6 separate regions of the Homo sapiens genome follow, and regions 2, 3, 4, 5 and 6 are each linked to region 1. The links are contacts of gene promoters, found by promoter capture Hi-C in blood cells and fetal thymus (Javierre and others, 2016). All regions are on one chromosome and are shown on one strand. The core of a region is centred on a gene start or on the middle of the fragment in contact, and the rest is flanking DNA. Distances in the headings are between cores, read along the strand shown. Region 1 holds the start of ANKRD44 (ankyrin repeat domain 44). Region 2 overlaps ANKRD44 (ankyrin repeat domain 44). Region 3 has its middle 34 kb from the start of PGAP1. Region 4 overlaps ANKRD44 (ankyrin repeat domain 44). Region 5 overlaps ANKRD44 (ankyrin repeat domain 44). Region 6 overlaps BOLL (boule RNA binding protein).

Region 1 (3,773 bases), core at 826-3,325:
GAGAGTTGTGTTTTACCACTTACCTACTGAAATACATATTCATTATAAATTACTCTCCTTTAATTTTTCCTTTATTGTACAATTAGGACAATATATTGTTGCTGGTTTTTTTTTTTTTGAAATTTGTATTGGTAGGTAATATTATCCACAAATTACCTTTCAGGATAGTAAGGGGAGTGTTAAAGATACTAGTTACAAAAAGAGGATGATGGTCTGATTGGGTGGAGAACTGCTGCCTCCTCACTTTGGCCCCAGGAACTTAGGTGCAGGCATGTCCGCGATGAATCAAATTGGATCTTGAGTGAATCTTCCAAATTAAGTCATTTGTTATCACTCTTCTGAAAGATGGCTCTATTTAAGTAGAGAATGCAGGGTCCTATTCAGTTTACTTACAAAGCCATGCAGGGTGTTCAGTAAATAGACATACCAATAACAGCAGTGAAGAACTGACTCATAGATGCAACATAAACAATCTGTTGTATGTCTGAGAAAGGCCTTAGAATTTTTTGTTTGTTTGTTTCCATGCAACATTGATAACAGAGGAGTGGAAGCCAGGAACAAAGTTCCTTGGTTCTTCTTGTCTGCATGATCTGAATTATAATCTATAAGACTAATAAAGGTAAATTTGAGATTTAGCTGCTTCGACAACCAGAGTGGCTGGATGGTAAATGTGAGGATATTAATGCTCCTTTCTCTCCTGTCTCATGTGGAATCTTTGGGGGAGGTTCTAAGAGTAGGGAGGAAGAATGGACATTTGGTTTGTGAATATACAGTAGAGGCAGATGTTTGGTCTTGACCAAAGAATTCTGTAGCTCTAGTTTGCTCTTCAAAGCTGTTCAATGCTGCCCTACAGGTTTGCTCTATGGCCTGCCAGGGGCACATGGGGCTGCCTGGGAGCACTTCCTCTCCACTTGCTTACTTAATTCTCCCTTCTCCAGATCTCAACTCCTGTCACTTTCTCAGGGAAGCCTGCCCTCACCCACCAGTCTGGTCTGATTCCTTTGTTGTGGGTTCACTTCAGAAGCATGTTTTCCCTTGAGATCCCTTATCTCAGTTTGTAATTACATTCATTAGCAGAGACTATGCGGTTTATGTTGGCATCTTCTGAGAGCAGGTTATCTTATTTATGCTCTCCGTTTATTCCCGTGCCTAGCCAGTGCCTGACAAGGTAGGGACTCAGTACATAGCTGTTCAATGAATAAGTGTTTGCTCCAAATTCCAGAACTATCAACAGCTACTATGCTTACGAATATGCCCGTTGTATCTGTAGCCCATGGTGTTTGACAGCTGTCTTCTATTTGTTGAAGAGCTTGGTAACTTGGGATTTTGTAGAGATCAGTAAGGACTGGTGGGAACACCCAAAAGACCCATCAACTCGGTGATTTAGGACTGCTTTGCTTCTCCAGGAACTCCACTCCACCCCCACCAGCAAAAACCAAACCCAGGGTGTTTGAATTTAACAATAGTATGTGTGTGTGCATATGTGTGTGTGTGTTTAGCTGGAAAGTGGCTGGAGAACAAGGTGGAAGGGCCAGAGCTTCTGTTCCCTCCACCCATAAATGTTTGGCAAACACCCTGTAAAGAATCACAATGTGTCCGCTGCCTCCTGGCATTAAACAAAGGGAGCATCATAATTGCGGTCCCTGGGATCTTCGGGGCGCTGCCACCACCTGATTCTGGGTTAGGGGAAGGGGGCGTAACCCCATCTCCCCGGTTAAAGTGGACGGCATGTGAGTGAGAGCCTTTCCTGCCCCCTCGGGGTGTGTCCCCGCGGGCTTCCCCACCCATATGTGTGAGACCCGTCAGGGAGGCCCGCGATCCGCCCAGGGCCCGGGGCCGGCCCGGCCGGGCGCCGCGTGCAGGTGCGGAAGGCAGGCGGCGGCCCGGTGCGGGCGCGGGGGCAGCGCCGGGGGCCGGGCTGCGCGGCTCGGCTGCGGGCGGCAGGAGGCAGCGTCGGCCCAGGCGGCGGGCGGCGAGCGAGCCAGCGCGCGGTGATGTCAGTGGCGGCCCGGCTGGCAGCAGCCGGTACTTCCTGTGGAAAGGCGGGCGGGCTCGGCTGCAAACCCCACTAGCCAGTGTCAGCCTCTCGGCGGGAGGAGGCGGCGGCGGAGGAGGAGCAGGGGGAGGGCTGTCAAATTCGGGAGCCAGATTTTTTCCCTTCTCCTGGCAATCCCTTCCGCTTCCCCGGCTCCCGGCGTGACATCTGCGGGCCGGGGACCTGCATGTGTGTGCGCGCGAAGGAGCGGAAGAATGGCAGTGCTCAAACTCACCGACCAGGTAGCGGGCGGCGGCGCCGGCGGGCGGGACGCGCGGGCGCGGGGCGGCGCGGAGCCCGGCGGGGGGATGGGGGCGCGGCTGGAGCGCGCCCGCGAGCTGTTTACTCGCGGCGAAGGGGAGGACTGTGTGCGGCCGCCGGTGCCTCCGAGAGCCCGCGGCGGCAGCTCCCCTCCGCCGCGCCGTCCCCGCCCTGGGCCGTCGGAACTGCGCGCCCGAGTCTGGGGCAGGGCCCGTGGGCGCTGGGCAGCCGGCGTGCGGGAGTGCGGCGGCCGCGGGCCCGGCGGGGCTGGGGAGGGGGCCGGGGGCTCGAGGTGCTCTCGGGACTCGCACCGCGCCGCGTTGCGTGGGCGCCGCCGGCCCGGGCCCCGGGGAGGAGGACGCTGCACGAAGAGGGAGAAAGGATCGCAGACTGGGACCCCTCCCCAAACCTAGCAGGAGTCCTGCCCAGAATGCGGCTCTTGTGTGGCCGGGCTGTCTTTATTTATCCGTTGGATGTGACATCCGACTTCCTCTTTAGTTGCGCCAGGCTGTGTGCGTGGTGCGGGATGGGGACCCCTGGAGACCGCCCTTTCGGATCGGGCCGGTCCCTCTGAGGAGGAGGTGAAGTCGGCTCGGAGCCTCCACTCACAGGCGGTGGGCTACGGTCTGCCTGTGTCTACCAGCTTTGTTGGCTTTCCTTGCTGAGACACCACACAGGGCAGCTCTGGAGTCCTGGCTTGGAGAGGTGGGGTTATTTGCTGAATCGGATTGACAGTCCTCGCCGCAGGTCTGTGGAATGGTAACAGCCACCTTCGCGGACTCTGCTGCTCTTACATTGACACTAACAGGCACCAAACCAAGTTGCATGACAAAACTCTTTGCAGCTCTTTCCACGAAAAAAGGAAACGGCTTGCTACCCCCACCCCCGTTTATTCGTGGGTAGTGAAAGGAACTTTGTTTTGGGGTCCTGGTAGGCAGAGAGGCAATCTTGACTTTGACTACAGGGTCAGACTTGCCAGCCCTTGGTATTAAATACCTCAAACTTGTCCATGGGTTGCATCTGCTGCCTTGCGTTCTCCAGTTAGTATCCAGCCAGAACATCTTGCAACTGAAGTGCAGTCCGTCACCACAATGATTTGCAATGATTTGTTCTCCTGCCTTTTAGATTCAATTTTTTTAGCTTGTTTTTCCTAAATATTTACAGGTGTTTGGCGGGGTTGGTGATGGGGAAATCACTGAGTTAAAATTCATGTTATTGTTAAATTTAGTAAGAAGAGCAGCTGGTACTTGTGATGAATGTATTTGTTCTCATTGGTTCCAGAGCATTTAAAAGTGTAAGTTGATATCAGGATTTCCTTCACCTTTTGGTCACATACTTTGCCAACTGTTAGACATTTGCGTATTTTAAATCCTACAGTTTTAGCGTGTCTTGGGCCTGTCATCTTTGCTAGTACACGTTGCTGTACTTGTCTGTTAATCCCTAGATCTTCAAAGTACAAAGAATGGTTCTAATAGGT
Region 2 (3,232 bases), core at 603-3,102, 290 kb after region 1:
GGCTAATTGAATACCACAGTTAAAAACTGGCAGGATGTTTCAGCACAAACTGATGAGAGCAAGATGAGCACATGCAGAGCTGCAGCTGCGACCTTCTGCCTGGACTTGAAATCAGGGTCTTCAACGAAGTCTGAGGCTCTGATTCTTGTACTGGGTGAGATCTGGGAGGTGAGGGAAGAAGAGTTATTTTATCACCAGTAACGCTTCCTCTCCACATCCCAGTAATTGAAGGCAAATGCAACAGCTCAGAGTGATGATCCCCAAACTCTTCATGGGAGTGACCAAGGTGGGAAGTGCACCCACCACTCTGTCTCAGATTGTGAGTTGCTAAGAGTTGGCCATCAGCAGCTGCTCCCTAGGAACCCTGCTGACTGGCAGCCACACCCAGCAACAGCCAGCTCACCTTCCCGAGGCACTCACGTGCCCTTGGTGCTGCTGAATTGTGAGCACTTGGTTCAAGGCCACAAAGATGGTGTTTGGATGCTTCTTTGCTTAGTAAAACCCAGGGGCAGGACACCAGGAAGAATGGGAAGGGGCTGGGTTTCTTTGTTTAACTGTGTTTATGACTTTTCACTTAATACTATGTGTACATAAGCACTCCTTCAGTGTCATTCTGATGAAAAATTGACCTGGAAATTTTGGAGAGAAGAGAGGAGTGTTTTATTAATTGACATGCAGAGGTGTTCAGGCAAGAGAGCGGAGACAAGGCCATCACACAAGGATTGGGAGTATCCAGAACTGACCATATGTGTGGAGCTTTCCTTTCACTGCCTGTCTCCCCACATACTCACAGCACACCTGCTGACACCCACTCACACGTCCTCTGACACCCACCAACACACCCACTACACGCTCATACACACATGCATTTTGAGTCCAGTGAAATCAGGGTAAAGTGTGCATCAGTCTGTGTTCCCGGAGATGGACTTACTGTGGAAAATGTGGATGAATAGTGGGATATTTATACATATAAATCTTCATGCCAGTTGGCCCTTAGTACAGGTTGCTTGCTAGAATCCCTGCCCAACCATCTGCTGTGCCTGGGGAAGTTACCCCAAAGCTGAGCACTCACAAACATAGCACTAACTGCCCCTAGAGAGTCTTATGTGGAGGGTTATCTCAGATACAATTCTCAGGCCCCAAGAAAGTGGGTTTGACTGCATTGCCAAGCCTGCTACTAATCTGAGAAGAGTTTCTTGGCTTCCAAAGACTTGATCATCTCTCGTTCTTCTTTTTTTTTTCCACAGTGTATTTGTTGAATGCTTATTGTGTACTCTGCTAAACTCTATGGGTTGCTGGCTGCGTAAAGATAGGGTGGTGATATCATTTAAAAGAGGTGGGCTTTGGTAGTTCTGCAGCTGACAGAGACCCAGGAAAGGTACATCAAGTGGAGGTCCTAGCTGCCATTCTTTTCATTAGCAACTCACCTGTGCATGGTTTCCCCACCTGTAAGTTAAAGGGAATCTGTTAGTTAAGCATCTCAAAGACCCTTTCCAACTTGTTAATTTATTGAATTGTTTATTGTGTGATATTAACCCAAATACCTCACCTCTTATGTCTCAGTGTCCCTACCCATGATATGAGAATAGCAGTACCTCAACGTAGGGCCATTGTGGAGATGGCATGAGTTAATGGATGTAACACAATTAGAACAGTGCCTGGCACACATATGTGCCATGAGCTAGCTTCATCGTCATCATTACTAACATCATATAACATCATTATTAACATCATCCTTTCATCCAACATACACTGACTGTGAATAGTGCCAAGCACTGTTTGAGTAGCTGGAGATATTGCAGTGAACAAAACCCCACCTCTGCCCTTGCAGAGTATCCAGTCTAGGGGAGACAAACAGGCGAGGAAATATCTCAAATGACAGATGGCAATAAGTGCTGCAGGTGCTACAGAGAAAATGAAATGGGATCAGGGAGATAGAAAGTATTGAGATGGCAGACAGGGTGCTTATTTATTTATTTAAGAGGTGGGGTCTCACTGTGTTGCCCAGGCTGGTCTCAAACTCCCGGGCTCAAGTGATCCTCCTGTCTTAACCTCCTGAGTAGCTGTAATTGCAGGCATGAGCTGCTGCACCTGGCCAGGGTGCTATTTTACGTAGCATAGAATCTCATATTTGTACAGAGACCTTAAGAGCTATGCATGTTGACATCTGATGAAGGAGTGTTTTGGGCAGAAGTGCAAAGTCCCTGGGGGAACTCATGAACTGTCCACAGAACAGGAAAGGGGCCACTGTGGCTGGAGCAGAGTGGTGAGGAGAGTAGCTGGGGGCAATGCCTCACATGTTGTGGAGGGAGCCAGGAGTTTGGGGGGCCACCACAGATCTCATGGGGACTTTTACTCTGAACAAAATAGGAAACTATTAGGAGGGTCTTGAGGAAACAGATTGATATGATGTGACTTTTGTTTTAAAAGGATCACTTTAGTTTCTATGTTGAGTCAAAATTGCAAGGGAACGAAAGCAGAAGCAAAGCAAACCAGGCAAGAGATGATGACCATGACTTTGACCAGGGTGATTACGGTGGATTCCTTCTAAAGTCATTTTATTCTTTCTCTCTAAATACAAATTATTTGCTTTAAGGACCCAAAAGGTATGCCCATCACCCTCTCTAGGGGCCTCAGTAGCAATTAACTTGATAAAACCCAAGGCACATAATTTCTTAGGTGGAAGCCATCTAGCAGTGTAATGGAACCAGATGCCCCCAAACCTTGACTGCTACAAGAAACCTGACCTGCCTTGAGTTACTATTTCCTGGCTGAATGATTCAAATCTCCAGGGTTATTGGCCCAGTGAATTTCATAAGCATTTCATCCTCTTGAAAAGATTAAATTAAGAAACAATGTTATGCAAATGAAAGGCTCTAGCTGTCAAGATTTCCAGACAGATCCATTGTTCTCATGGATTCTGTTGAGATCCCAATTCTTTCCCCTCATTGTCCTTAGTTCCTATCTTAAAAGGTCTGGAGAAATTAATCACGTTTAAGAGATAATTGTTTATAAAAAGTTGTCTTTCGTAGTTGCTAGACATAGTGTTTTATACGGCAGTTAGAGAAATTTTTCTCATTGTGCAGCTCACATATTCTGTAAACTTACTTAACATTTGGTTTGGTTGTTTGGTCAGTTCCTGAGAGAAATTAGTTTAAAAATCAAAAAACCCCATCTAAAAGTGGGCAAAGGATATGAACAGACACTTTTCAAAAGAAGACATTTATGTACC
Region 3 (3,445 bases), core at 160-2,659, 350 kb after region 1:
TCAGGAGCTCTGCATGAACCTGAAAGTAGCACTTTCTCACTCTATAACTGTTGGTTTCCTGTTCTGTCTTTCCACTAAGTTACACTGTGATCTTCTTGAAGGCAGAGACTGTATTTCACTTCCACAACCATAATGATCAGCATGGTACCCAGAACTTATCTGACTTAGATAAGTGTATACATGGATGCAAGCATGAACTAATGTGTGGACTCATACATATGTGAATGCATGAATCAATGACTAGTCAAAGGGAGATATGAGGAGTATATTTTTCCATCTCCAGCATCTAAAAGGGACTGTCTTCCCACTTTCAGGATAGTTAATTTTTACATATAAATGAGCAGTTTATTTGTAAGGTATGGGTGTTTATAAGATTGGTGTTCATAACTTGCAGAATTCATGTACCTTTGAGGAACATTCTGAAAACCAAACAAGTATTTCTTTTTTCTTCCCTTAGGATTAAGTGGCACTTATGAAAAGGAAAGAGAAAATAAAGGAAAATAAGAGAATGAGGCAAGATCTTTATCACCATGTCTTTCTGAAGTGAGAGACACATTCCTTTATTTAACTAGTCAGTGCCTTGATACAAAGTGTGAGGAGCGTGTAGGGAAACAGGCTCTCTTAGTCATCATTGGTGGGAGTGTAAATTGGTGCCAACATTTTGGAGGTAATTTTGGGAGTATTTATCAAAATTCTAAATGCATATACCATCTGGCCAAGCAATTCAACCCCTGGGGGTTTATGTCCCAGAATGCTTCCATAATGCATAAATATGAATGTATAAGGATGTTAGTTGCAGCACCATCTCTAATAATCAAAATTTGAAAATAATCCAGATGCCCATCAAAAGGGGATTGGATAAATAATGTTAATCAATATAGTGGGATCTATCCAATTTAAATTATTTAGTGATAAAAGCTAAATTGCACATAACATGAACCCACATTCTAGAAAGAAGATGTAAATGCATCAGGATGTAAGACAAGAAGGATATATTGCAAATGTAGTGGTGGCTACCTGTGGGGAGTAGGGATTGGGGTAGGAGTAGAAGAGACTTTTTTTTTTTTTTTTTGAGATCAAGTCTCATTCTGTCACCTATGCTGGAGTGCAATGGCACAATCTTGGCTCACTGCAACCTCCGCCTCCAGGGATCAAGTGATTCTCCTACCTCAGCCTCCCTAGCAACTGGGATTTTAGGTGCCTGCCACCATGCCTGGCTAATGTTTGTATTTTTAGTAGAGATGGGATTTCGCCATGTTGGCCAGGCTGGCCTCGAATTCCTGACTTTAGGTGATCCACCCACCTCGGCCTCCCAAAATGCTGGAGTTACAGGCGTGAGCCACCACACATGGCTGGAAGAGACCTTTTTGATCTTATGTATTTACTTCTGTATTTAAAAAAATTATCTAAAACAAATATGCATTGCCTTTTAAATAAATATTTTAAAAATAAAAACAATAATTAATTGCTAATTTGTCAAGCCCTGGGCTGAGAATTGACCTATTCTTGGGCATTAGAAATCTTTAGTGATCGTAAACATTTCCTTTGAGGTCATTTAAATGATGGGAAGAACAAAACTGAGCAAAATACTAGAAATATCAAAATTTCAGCCATCTGATCCACATTCAAGTCCTGTTTTAGAAATATCATAGCCCTATGTTGAACTCTTTTTTACTATAGAATAGGAACTTTTGAATGAGACCATTTAAAATTATCCAAGACTCCAATTCTGGAAGTTTTTTTTTTTTTTTTTTCAGCTTTCTGCCTCACCTACGTGTCAAGTCAGACTTGGTGTTGGTTGGATTTATTTTAATTTATCCTCAGCCTTCCAAGAGCAAGTCCCTCAGTAACAGTTTCTGAATGGCCTGTTATCTGTTATGTTTTGTTTGCACATGGAAGTTGTCACGTGTTCTCTGTGACAACATGATTTCTCAATATTCAAGGGCTGAATCCTTTTCCTGACCACATTTTCTACTTGGCTTGGGATCTTCTAGAGGTTACCCATACCAAGCTCTTTTAAACTTACATAGGAATTAGTTGCTATTTTGAGCCAGCACCACACCAAGCTCTAGACAACTTCAAGCTCCCTATTATTCATATCTACTTCTAAATAATTAAAGCCATGGACAACAATATCTGGCTACATCAGCCAGTGCTTTGCGCAGGCTGAAGAATGGAGAAAGTTCACTGAACTGCTGCTATGCACTTTATTGCCATAGCTCTGGGCAAAACCTTCAAGTGGTTGCATTTTGTATGCAGGATTGCTGGCCAAACTTTTGAATTATGCTACACAATGTCACAGGCCATTTCAGCTGGCGTCCAGACACTCCTAGTATAAAAACAACCACCAGCACCCACTGTACATTTTCTCTCATTGACATTGCTGGGTGCTTTTGTTTGGTAATAGCTTGGGGCAGGGAAGAGGGGTGATGAGGATAATGGAGACGATAACATGACACTGAGGCCATTGGGTGGATTGTGAGCCCCTAGAACTACAGAATATTTTTTTTCATGAACAGGACTTGCTTTGGGGCCCAGATGTCAAAGAGTGACACAGAGTTGGAGAGGGCCATTTTTTCCCACCTCCCTGTGGAATCCAGTATTGTTCTGGCACATGTGATGGGGACTTTGGAGACATTGGGAGACAGTATTCTCAGCACATTCTTGGTCAAGTGTTTCGCAGTGGACTTCCTCAGTGAAGGCAGTGATAAAAATTTCTTCCAGCTGCTTGCCAGGACTTCATGTTGACAGATGAGAACTGGAGCAGACAAGAAAAAATACTAGGGATGCTCCAAGAGGGCCAGGACAGAGATTTCTGTAGGACTCTGTTGTATCCTCTCACATAGTATGCACTCAGTACCTATTAATTAAGTGGGTGGATGATTCTAGTAGTGATTAAAGCTGATAGATTGGTTTGTGAATATGAGGAAAGCATATGTTCAGGGACTCCCAGAAATAACCAGGACCATTTTGAAGAAAAATAGCTACTGTTTAAAGAAAATAAAATTTGAATCCCATTATAATTTATACAATGTGTGACCTAAATTTGTTTCTACAGGTAAAGTGTGTGACCACATTTGTTTCTACAGGTAAAGATAGGTGACAATTGGATTAGAAATATTTTCTAAACCACAATTGGTAAAATAACTTGTAAGAAATCAATGATCTACTTGGCTTTTTTTTTTTTGGCAGGAGTATAAACATCATTTATAAAATTAAGTCATATTCATCGTGGTCTTGACTAGATTTTTCCATAGGATCTATAACTCCATACCTAAATTATCCTGTTTCTAAAAATGTAGTGATAAGTTTGGCTCTGTGTCCACACCCAAATCTCATGTTGAGTTGTAATCCCCAGTGTTACGAGAGGGACTTGGTGGGAAGTGATTGGATCATGGGGGTGGATTTCCCCCATGCTGGTCTCATGATAGTGAGTTCTCACGAG
Region 4 (3,402 bases), core at 721-3,220, 270 kb after region 1:
CTAGTTATTCTTTCCAAATTCAGCACCCTCTCTGAGCACAAACTTGGAAACTTTTTTCAAAGCTGTTACAATGAATAAATGCGGAAATTAAGCTCTACTAATTTTTTTTTTTGCTTAGGCATAAAACTTCCTTTTTATAGCTCTTTTATGGAATTGCTAGGAATTTGTGTGTATAAACTATTTACAAATAGAGGGCTTGCTTTATTATTTTAGGACCAAGTGAGATCTCAGTTTGTGCTTGGTGTGTTGTTAGAATTAAAAGGGCATTCATCGAGATCATGTCACTTTTCAGGCATATACTTAAAAACTGACCATCATAGTCTGGGTGCGGTGGCTCACACCTGTAATCCCAGCATTTTGGAAGGCCGAGGCGGGCATCACCTGAGGTCAGGAGTTTGAGACCAGCCTGGCCAACATGGTGAAACCCTGTCTCTACTAAAGATACAAAAATTAGCTGTATGTGTGGTAGGCACCTGTAATCCCAGCTCAGGAGGCTGAGGCAGGAATTGCTTGAACCCAGGAAGCAGAGGTTGCAGTGAGCCGAGATCGCGCCGCTGTACTCCAGCCTGGGCAACAGAATGAGACTCCATCTCAACAACAACAAAAAAAATTGACCATCATAAATAAATGCCAGGCACCCTTCTGAGGAAAGCATACATTATGGTTATACTTTAAAACTGGAATGTGCAGTTGGAAACTGCAGGAGCTGATGTATAATCCAGTTCTTACTCTGTTTATCAACCATTTAGGAAATTTTGGAATAATTTGGCATCATAAGACAAATTCTGAAAAACATCTTTTGACTATGATAACATACAGAGAAGTATTCCAAAATTTTTATGCAGTTGTGTTCACTTCCATTTTTATTGCTTAATAAATAAAATTCCAAGAAATACAGTAAGTAAACAAAAAAGAAAATATCCTACAAATTGAATTTGTTATTTTAAGATATGGACTCTTCATTTTAATTGTTTGATCACTGATCCCTTGACTTTAAAAAGATCAGAAATAAAAATCACACTTCTAGTATAATTACTTTAATTTTTGGCACTAGATTTTATAAATAGATCATTCTTATCTAACCTTAAGCAGTTCACTTTATGAATTTGGCAATCAAGAGTGAATTAGTGCTTTCAAATATGTCCCTACCTAATCCATACACTAAATTAAAGAACCCATGATACAGTATGTGTCCTGAAAGGGAAAAAAAAAACCAGGGTCCAGTTTTGACAACCATGCTGTTGTCCAGCAAATAAAGGTAGTTTAGTCTCCCCCGTGTCAAGCTAATAGCATCACTACCTGTTTTTTAAATGGAACACTGAATTTTTTTTCACCTGCCTTTCATCTGCATGCTTAACATATTTGATGCCCCACATTTTTAAAAATTAAAAACAAAACTTTGTCAATATTTAATTTTCCATAATTTTTAGGGTGTAAGAAAGTATTTTTTAACATGACTTTCAAAATAAAGCCTCGTCAGGGTGGCTCATGCTTGTCATCTCAGTGCTTTGGGAGGCTGAGGTGGGAGGATCACTTTAGGGCAGGAGTTTGAGACCATCCTGGGCAACATAGTGAGACCCCCATCTCTACAAAAAATTTTTAAAAAGCCTTGTCAAAACTAGAGCAAAGTCATTCTAATAGATAATGGGGAACAATAAGAAAGGAACTTTACAAGTATAGATTTCTATTATATTAAATTGCTCTTCTGAATGATATAGAATTACACTACATTTTAGGTTTTCTTTCATTACTAGGGATTGAGGTAGTAGGATAAGTCCAGGTACTACAAAAACTTAATTTTAGTCAACAGTTTCACCTCTCTTCTTAAACCCGTTTATTGAAGCTATCAGCAAACAGTGAAACTGGTTAGGGTGAGAATCGTGAGGACGTTTGTGGTACATATTACTAAATTAAATATCCCTTTCTCTCACACCTGCTGTTCAACAAGCTAATTAACAGCTAGAAACAAAACACAAACAACAGATGGAAAAGGAGCCATAGACACACCCACATTGGTGCAAAAGCCTCTGAATCCAGGGAGTGAAACGGCTGCATTTGCATCCTGGTGGCCCAAATTCATAAACTGCAGTGAGTTTTATATGATGGACACTGTTTACCGAAAATGCCTCATTCTTGCCTTTACTGAAAATGCCTTGCATTTACTGAAAATGCCTCACTGGCTGAACATGATTCACTTTCAGAATTGCTGGATGCCTGAAAAGGTTTAGTCAGTTCTCAGCTGAGGTTGTAAAACTAAAAAATAAATAAATAAAAATAAACAGTTTAGGACCTGATTTTAAGACTTCTTAAAATTCATATGTTATTCCTGGGCTTTCTGGATTTGTGACAGTGATTTATATTTGACATTGGGGGAGAGAGGGTAGGAAGCAGAATGCCTGTCTTCCCCGAGAGACAGGTAGTTCTTTAAATATGGAGGCCTGGAGGAAAGAAATTTGGATTTTTTTTTTTTTTTTTTTTAGTAGTGGAGGGGGCAGATGTGGAATGAGAAGATACAATTGGAAGCAATAGGAATTGAGTCTTATGGACAGTATTCTTCCTTTTCTCCTAACAATGTTGGCCACTTGTGAAGGAAATGGTAGATATTTCCTATTCAATAATAGCCAAAGGACAAGGTAACAGGAGTAGGACTGGGATATGGTCTAAAAGCTCACAGAAAGTGAATCCAAGAAGGCTAGATTTGCCAAATGCAGGCCTGCAAGCTGGCTACCAGGAACCCCTTCAAATAAAAAGAGGCATAATTATCAGGAGGATAGTGTGTGGCTAAGGTGGACCCCGCAGTGGAAAGACTCAAAGTAGGAACCATTTTTTAAATTGACACACACACAAAATCAGGCTTGGGGGTATCATAGTTTTATTACATTAAAAGAAGATAAAGTTATATTATGATTTTTATATAGGCTTTTGTCTTCTTAAAATCTAAAACATATTTTTCTTATGTTTTTTTTTCATTAATGTACCCATTAAATAGCTGTGGTACAATAGATATCTTACCTAAATGAAAACCTGATTTAATGAAATGAAATTGTATGAACTTTGGAGAAAACAATTCTTTGAATTATCATGTTTAGCTTAGATTAGATTCATGTGCTCTTGCTTTCTGTTGTAAATAATCTGTTCTTTATTGTGTATTTCATTTTCTTCTGTGGTGAGATTTATTTTTGAAGAGAGGTAAGATGGAGAAGGAGAGAGGGGTCTGCCTGTTGGGCTGCAGGTGATCTGAGATCTGAGATCTATAGGTATCCTGCTGGAGTGAGGTTCCCTGTAGTTCTGCTAAAAATTCTAAGCAGGAAGGAGGCCAGAAAAAGAGACAGGAAGATGCATTGTGAATTCCTACTGAAGTGTGCTGAATGAATTCAACACTCTAAAGGCTGACCTTTTCTC
Region 5 (3,510 bases), core at 43-2,542, 310 kb after region 1:
TAACTGAGTAAAAGTTCACTTTCCCCTTTTAGTTAATCATTAACACTTAACCGTAATCAGAACCGATAAGCTTAAATGACCAATTTTATTCAGGGTTTCTGATCTATATAATATAACCAGGATCCCACAAGGGATTAAAATAATAAAACTAATACCAAATATATGTATATAATTTAATAACCTGTCACAATTGATTACTAGTAGATGCATGGTTCATCTTTTGGTGTTTGTTGTGTTTCATATTCCTTATTTATTTTGTTGTACTTATTATTTGGGAGATTTTTAAATTTGTATTTCACTTAATTTAAAAATGCATCCTAATTATACCAATTCCAAAGTACAGAAATATCTGAAGTAAAATTGTTTCCATTTCTAAACCTACTTTCTAATGTAATTTTGTGTGCATCTTTCATAATTTTTCCTTTGAAAATATAAATAATTATAAATTAATGTGTATATTTTTTGAAACTGGAATTATAGAACAAATAGCAGCCATTCTATAATTTTTTGTTGGTGTTTAAATTGTATTGCAGATATTCTTACAAGTCAATATGTATCAATATGGATTGATCTTATAATGGTTGTATATTATTTCATAGCAATATGTATACCAGAACTTATTATTTATTCAACCAGGTTTCTGTGGATTGACATTCAGATTTCTTTTTTCCTATTACAAGCAATGCAGCAATGTGCATGTCCATATTATGGTACCATAAATTCTCTCAGATAAGTTTCCAGAAATAAAATTATTGAGTAAGGGGGTTTGTGTATTTTTTAATTTTAATAAATTATACCATATTATTTTGCAAAAAGGATATCAAAATTTATTATTTCACCAAACATTTGTATAAAAGTTAGTGTTTTTCCTCATGCTTGCCAACCCAGAATAACACCTTTTTAAATTTTTGTCGATTTGAGAGGCAAAAGGTATCTTCTTGTTTCAATTTGCATTTCCCTATCTAATAGTACCCTGGCTATTTGTATTTCTTCTTCTAGAAATTACTTTTTCCATCCACTGTTCACTTTTTTCCTATTGAGCTATTTATCTTTTCTCGTATGCTTGTGGGAGCACCTTGTCTTGGTGATAAGAATGTGATATGAATGAATGTTTAATGATATGAATGTCTTAGAAATATGAATATTTTTGTTCCTTGTTTAGGATGTTTTTTTCCACTTAGAGATTTTGAGCTTTTATGTACTTGAATCAGTTACAGAGATACATTTCTATTATATTTTCAACAAATATGTATTGAATAACTACAATGGCAGCTACTGTTTAGATACTTGAAATATGTCAATGAACAAAACCAAGATCCTATCAGATTTTGTATGGTTTCCAGGTTTCCAGTCTCTCTTCAAAAGGTCTCCTACCCCTAAGATTATATGGATATTTTCCCATGTATTTTTTACTTTGCTTCTATAATTTTCTTTTTACATTTTCAATTAGTCAATTAAAATTTTAATTTAGAAACCATTAATAGTTCCACAAAAGGCGTTTGTGTGTGTGTGTGTGTGTTCTAATTATATCAATTTAAGACCTCTTACTGTGTTTTCACTACGGTCCTCTTTTTTCATTCATTCTGCTCAGTAAGAGCCAAATTTTCTATTTCCTCAACTTGGTTTTGTTCCCTTCCTGCCATTGGAGGATTGTGATTTTTTTTTTTAACCTACTAATGGGTGACCCCCATCTGGGTCAAGCTGTGGGAGCTCTCTGGCACTGGAGAACCTACAAGAGGAGAAGGATGCAGTGAGAGTGCTGATTATAATGGCGGGCCGCAAACCTGACACAGACCAGATCCTCTCTTCAGGGCTCAGGGTGAGAGGTGTCTGTGTTCCTAGCCTCTCCAGGTACAGGCAGGGGAGGAGGAGCAGTCTCCTCCTAAGCCGTTCACCCTTTCAGTGCAGCCTTTGTCCAGGACTGAGTTTCAAGCTCCCATCTTCCCAGACTCCTTTTTACTAGGCACTTTGAAATATTGAAAGGAGCTCAGTCATCTCCAGTCCTACCTGTACAGACTCTTAAATTGGGATTCATATAGTCCCCACTTAAGGAATGCTATGTGTGGATGCTACCCTAAGCTAGATCCTTTGGAAGACTTGAGGTGTCTGGGACTATTTCAATGACGGTTCCATGTAGTTAGTTGGAAGGCTAAATCATACAACTTTCCTAGAGCTGCTGGCTTTTTTTTTTCTAGGGGTGTATGGAGTCTTACTCTGTCACCCAGGCTTGTGGCGTGATTTCGGCTCACCACAACCTTTGCCTCCTGGGTTCAAGCGATTCTCCTGCCTCAGCCTCCCGAGTAGCTGGAACTACAGACAGGCACCACCACACATCTTTTTTTTTTTTTGGTATTTTTAGGAGAGATGGGGTTTCGCCATGTTGGCCAGGCTGGTCTTGAACTCCTGACCTCAAGTAATTCGCCCGCCTCGACCTCCCAAAATGCTGGGATTACAGGCATGAGCCACCATGCCCAGCCACTGCCAGTTTTTTATATTTATTACTTCATAAGCTTTTTAATCTGTCTAAAAGCAATATTGCCTATTCTCTTTTTAGATATAAGAAAAGTTTGATTTGTATTTTAATATTTCAAATTGTCCCATCTACATCATTCTGAGGTAGATCATAAGGGAACTTTCACTAACTTAGCACTGAGTTCAACCAAGAAGAGGTTTCAGGACAATCTGTGTTGCAAAGCAAAATGGCAATGCCTTCCCACATTAGAATTGAGAACCACAGAGACTTTGTCGTTGTTTTTTGTTTTTTGTTTTAACCAGGTCTGTAATGAGGGAATGCTTAGTCAGGCTGGGGAACCATCACCCTTCTTCCTGGGAGACAATACCAGGCAGCAAGATCTGTCTTACAATTGTATAGAACGTCACAAACCACACTGAGGCCCTTTATTGAGTAAAGTTCTCACCATCCTGTGACATAGGTAGGGCAGGTATTCCTAGTCCAGTTTTGAATATGTGAGAAACTGAGGCTCAGAGATCCCAAGTAAATTGCCTCAGATCACATAACAAGTAAGCTGACAGCTAGGACCTTACTTAACTTGAATTCAGTTGATTTGGAAACTACCTACCATTTTGTTGAAAATAATTTCACATATTCATTCATCTACTTATTTGAATAGTGCTTACTGAATGCCCATGATGTGCCAAGAACTGTTCTTGGGGGCAGTTAAAACACATATAGTATTTTATAGTCAATTTTCACATGCATTATCTCAAATACTGTTTTCTCCTAATCACAGTTTCGCCTCTCCACTAGAATGCATAATGTAAGTGGAAGTATTTGTATGGGTGAAAGGTACATTTCCTCTTATAAATGTGGACAAATTGAAGCATGCCTGTGTGAGGCATCTATCTTTCAAGAGCTGAGAATAAAACAGAATATATTCTGCTTGCAAATGAGTCATCTTCTCTGTCTCTCTTCACCAGACCATATGACCTTCATTGTTTTATTTGTTCATTAAGTCTCAGAACACCTGTGAACATGTTAATAACATTTTG
Region 6 (3,739 bases), core at 1,219-3,718, 460 kb before region 1:
TGAGCACTGGAACAAGAAGAAAGAATATCGCCTTATTTGACCTCAACTGGGAGCATGCGCATCAGGCTACTCAAATTTTCCGCCGCTCTTCACGTGTCCACTAATAACCTCAAAATTGCCACAAATATTAATTTTAGGATTACAAGTAAATTTTAGCAAGTAGGCAAATTCACAAATACAGAATCCATGAGTAATGAGGATTGACTGTATTACAAATGGAGAAAATGGGGAATTGCGGTCAGACCCAGATCTATTTCAGTCTGAAGACGGCTCTTTCCCACTATTCCTTGCTGCTTTGAAAGAATATTATAGTCTGAATTTTTGAAATTCTTTCTAACTAGTTTTTCCTTATTGATTTTATAAATAATAGTGCTAAAATAATAAAATAATTTCTTTTTTCTTTATTTTAGGCTGAAAAACTTAATTATAAGGATAAGAAGCTGAACATTGGTCCAGCAATAAGAAAACAACAAGTAGGGATCCCTCGTATGTATTGAGAACTAATGTATTTTTAAATATTTTTGCATGGTTCTTTTTTGAAATATAAGACTTTTTATAGAACTTTATTAAAAGATCATGTTTCTTTCATCTAATAAAGTTATTTTAGCAAAGTTGGTGGAAAAACTGAATATTTTTGCCACAAAATAATATATCTCAATTTTTTTGGCTGGGAAAAAATTTATATACATAAAGATGCTTAAGTATATTCCATGTAGTTACATCATTAAAGGAAAAAAAATCTTTCGTGATGAAAATATCATTTAATATAGCAAAAGTAATTAGAAGTAATTTAATAATTTAGACTTACTAATGAGAAAAATTTTAATTAGAAACTAATTTAAAATTAATCAGAGTAAAAATATTGAAAGTGAAAACATAGAACTAATATCAGAAACTCGCTGCATGCTGTGTACTGTAACCCAGCCAGGTGTGTCATAATTTTCAGGGGGACAATCCCTAAAGCTTTAGGAATTGGCTAAATTATGTATCTACCTTCCTCAAATTTCTCTAATGCTTTCAATTCTATCTTTCCTCACTCTTTCTACTTATTAAGTTAGGCATCTTTATAGTTAACTTTTTACCTTTAATATTTATTAAAATTCCTAACAGTCTTTGGCTAGAAGGAGAAATGTGATGTAAAATTTATAACTAACTTATTTTCCCTTAGCCACATCCTAGTGTCTACGGGAATGTTTAAAACATTAGGTTATTATATATAATCTGTTAACAAATTAATAGATTGTATTCATTTGGACTGTTATGCTTTTGACTTAGAAATAATAGATATTTGGTTAATACAGTTGCCACAACTACAACAAAAAAGAGATTGATGTATATTAAGTTTAATTTTGACTTAGTATTTGTTAATTTAGGAGACAATCAAAGTATCCTCAGTAGGTTAATACAAAATGGAATGCACTAAATATGGCAGAATGCTGAATATTTTCAATCTACTGTTGTTACTTGCAAAGGTTAAGCTAGAACATATAGTAACGGTCCGTTAGCCCATTATCACCAGCAATATGTACTAAATAGTAATGCTCATAGTATGATCTACCAGTTGCTGAAATAGAAAATAAATCAGCACTATGCTGAATGCTTTCACATATACAAATAGTTTTTTCAAAACTACTTAGTGCAAGGGTCAATGTTATGAGTTTTCATTTAATCTTCATAGAATCCCATGATGTATTGTTATCTCTATTTTTGTAAATAGAAAATTCAATCCCAAAAAGATAAAGTCATTGTTTTAAAAATGTTTCTGCTGAAATACTCCTAAAGGTAGAGGAGAGTTAATCTTGGCATGTTGTGGTTCCTAACCCACTGCAGCATACTGGAATTGCAAATTTTCTTTAAAGTCTCATGATTTATGCAAAAACATCATGTATAATTTGCATTCTGTTCCATAATATCATATTGTTTATTTGAATATAAAAATATTTCCCAAAAACAATTGAATAAAACTGATTCTGTAGGAAGATTACTATGTTCAGCCTCTGCTTTTTCATATCTCCTGGTATACCATCCATCCCTTATCCAACTTTAAGAAGTATGGGGTTAAATAGCCTAATGGTGAGTGGTAGCACTAGCCTTCAAATGCAGGACTGTTTGACTCCAAAGTTCTTTTGACTTTTCTGCGAAGAAAAATAGGTGTTAAAAGTACATTTACAAATAAGGGATTCTTATCTTAGTTTTTTCTTAGATCTGTCATTTCTTTCCATCTCCATTACCAACACCCGAGTCCCAACTAACCACTTTGTTTACCTTAATTCCTGGAAAAACATCCTAAGTGGTCTCTCTGAATCCAATCTTTCTACCTTCCAATCCATCATTCACAAGGCAGCCAGAGTGATCTTTCAAAAGTGCACCTCTTATTGTCTTATGCTCAGCTTATTTTGAGGTATTCTTCCCTTTTCTTTCCATGCTTTAGCCATGTAGCCTTCTTTCAGTTCCAGAACATTCTATACTCCTGTTCTCAGAATCTAATATACTGTTTTCTTTACCTAGAATGTACTTTGCCATCCAATTCATTCTTTAGAGCTTAGCTGAACATCATTTCATCACAAATTTTCCATATATATGTATATAGAGAGAAATTTTATATATGTTTTGTATACATAATAATTGAAATGTTCAGTATCGTACCCTATAATGCCTCATGTATTTATCAAAATTGTATTTAATTAATTAATTGTGTAATCAACTAATGACTATCTTCACTACCAGACCTAACTTCTTTGAGGATACAGACCATCTCATGTCTAATTTTTTTATTTTTTGCTGTATCACTAGGGCCCTGTTCAATGCCTTGAAATAGTATGCACTGAAAATTTATTTATTTAGCAGGTAAAGCATGGTTCATTTTCTTTGAATAATGAACCATTATTGAATAATGAACCATTATCATTATCTTTGAATAATAGTGGAATATCTTTTGGGGGGAATCCATGGACCTCCAAAATTGTGTGTAAAATTGTGTTTGACTGTATATATATCTGAGGAAAAGGTCCCTGATTTTCATCAAATTCTCAAAAGGATCTAATTAAGAACCATTAAAATAAATAATAACAATACTAGATCAAATGCAGTGAAAATATAAAAGCTGAGGAGCAATAGTATTATTTAAAGTGGTAGGCCCATGCTATTTGAAGTGTGGTTTGCAGACAGTGTCATTTCATTGGAAGCTGTCAAAATGCAAATTCTTAGGCCCTGTCCCAGATTTACTGACTCAAAATCTCTGAAGATAAGTCCCTGGAATTTGCATTTTAGAAAACAATTTAAGTGATTCTAATTTATGGGAAATTTTGAGAAGCACTGGTATAGGTGGAAGAATTGTCAGTTTCACTAATTTATATAACCTTGCTGGTTAAGACCTAATCTAATTTGGCTAATTTAACTTTTAAAGTCTCCTCAATGACAAAAAATATATATATATCTATGTATATTATTTACTGTTTTTTGGTTTGTGGTGGGGGTTTATATAACTTGGCCCGGGAAAAGAGTTGGGGACCCCAGACTAGCCACATGAAGACTTGCGGTCATGTTTGCAACAGCAGCAGTTGTAGCAAAGGGAGACTAGATAGAGAATAGATCATAGAAAAGAGAGATAAAAGACAGCCATAGCATGAACGAATGTTTGCTGGTAGGATATCCAAAGAATTAGTAGGGTGGAACCAAAATGTCTTCAGGAAAGTAGAATCTTCTCCAACTTTACTGCCTCCATCATCTTTGGACTTTC

What was found. Contacts are between HindIII fragments. The CHiCAGO score rates a contact against its expected background, and 5 or more counts as called.
Region 2: a fragment that was not itself captured here is called in contact with the fragment with the promoter of ANKRD44 in region 1 in 3 of 17 cell types (neutrophils, total B cells and naive B cells); the score reaches 7.2 in neutrophils.
Region 3: a contact is called between a fragment that was not itself captured here and the fragment with the promoter of ANKRD44 in region 1, in 1 of 17 cell types (neutrophils). The highest score is 5.8, in neutrophils.
Region 4: a fragment that was not itself captured here is called in contact with the fragment with the promoter of ANKRD44 in region 1 in 4 of 17 cell types (total B cells, monocytes, total CD8 T cells and 1 more); the score reaches 9.1 in total B cells.
Region 5: a fragment that was not itself captured here is called in contact with the fragment with the promoter of ANKRD44 in region 1 in 1 of 17 cell types (total B cells); the score reaches 5.7 in total B cells.
Region 6: a fragment that was not itself captured here is called in contact with the fragment with the promoter of ANKRD44 in region 1 in 1 of 17 cell types (M2 macrophages); the score reaches 5.0 in M2 macrophages.

The regions. Positions count from the first base shown.
Region 1 is chr2:197,309,082-197,312,854 of GRCh38, reverse strand. ANKRD44 (ankyrin repeat domain 44) reads left to right here and starts at 2,075. Exons shown (of 28, transcript NM_001195144.2): 1 at 2,075-2,277. The coding sequence starts at 2,251. ANKRD44-DT (ANKRD44 divergent transcript) reads right to left here and starts at 1,789. Exons shown (of 4, transcript XR_923750.3): 1 at 157-1,789. RefSeq lists silencers at 1,760-1,839, 1,850-2,169, 2,220-2,599 and enhancers at 2,723-3,224, 3,676-3,735. The HindIII fragment of the contact is 14,364 bases long and covers 1-3,773 here.
Region 2 is chr2:197,021,582-197,024,813 of GRCh38, reverse strand. The region is part of intron 17 of ANKRD44 (ankyrin repeat domain 44); the gene reads left to right. Among named protein-coding and RNA genes, the nearest start is that of PGAP1, 96 kb to the right of the region's middle. The HindIII fragment of the contact is 5,296 bases long and covers 1-3,232 here.
Region 3 is chr2:196,958,681-196,962,125 of GRCh38, reverse strand. No RefSeq gene overlaps it. Among named protein-coding and RNA genes, the nearest start is that of PGAP1, 34 kb to the right of the region's middle. RefSeq lists a silencer at 1-101. The HindIII fragment of the contact is 4,897 bases long and covers 1-3,445 here.
Region 4 is chr2:197,041,576-197,044,977 of GRCh38, reverse strand. The region is part of intron 16 of ANKRD44 (ankyrin repeat domain 44); the gene reads left to right. Among named protein-coding and RNA genes, the nearest start is that of PGAP1, 120 kb to the right of the region's middle. The HindIII fragment of the contact is 4,276 bases long and covers 1-3,402 here.
Region 5 is chr2:197,001,992-197,005,501 of GRCh38, reverse strand. All of the region lies in intron 21 of ANKRD44 (ankyrin repeat domain 44), which reads left to right. Among named protein-coding and RNA genes, the nearest start is that of PGAP1, 77 kb to the right of the region's middle. The HindIII fragment of the contact is 2,440 bases long and covers 73-2,512 here.
Region 6 is chr2:197,772,412-197,776,150 of GRCh38, reverse strand. BOLL (boule RNA binding protein) reads left to right here. Exons shown (of 11, transcript NM_033030.6): 5 at 411-486. Among named protein-coding and RNA genes, the nearest start is that of BOLL, 11 kb to the left of the region's middle. The HindIII fragment of the contact is 3,006 bases long and covers 966-3,739 here.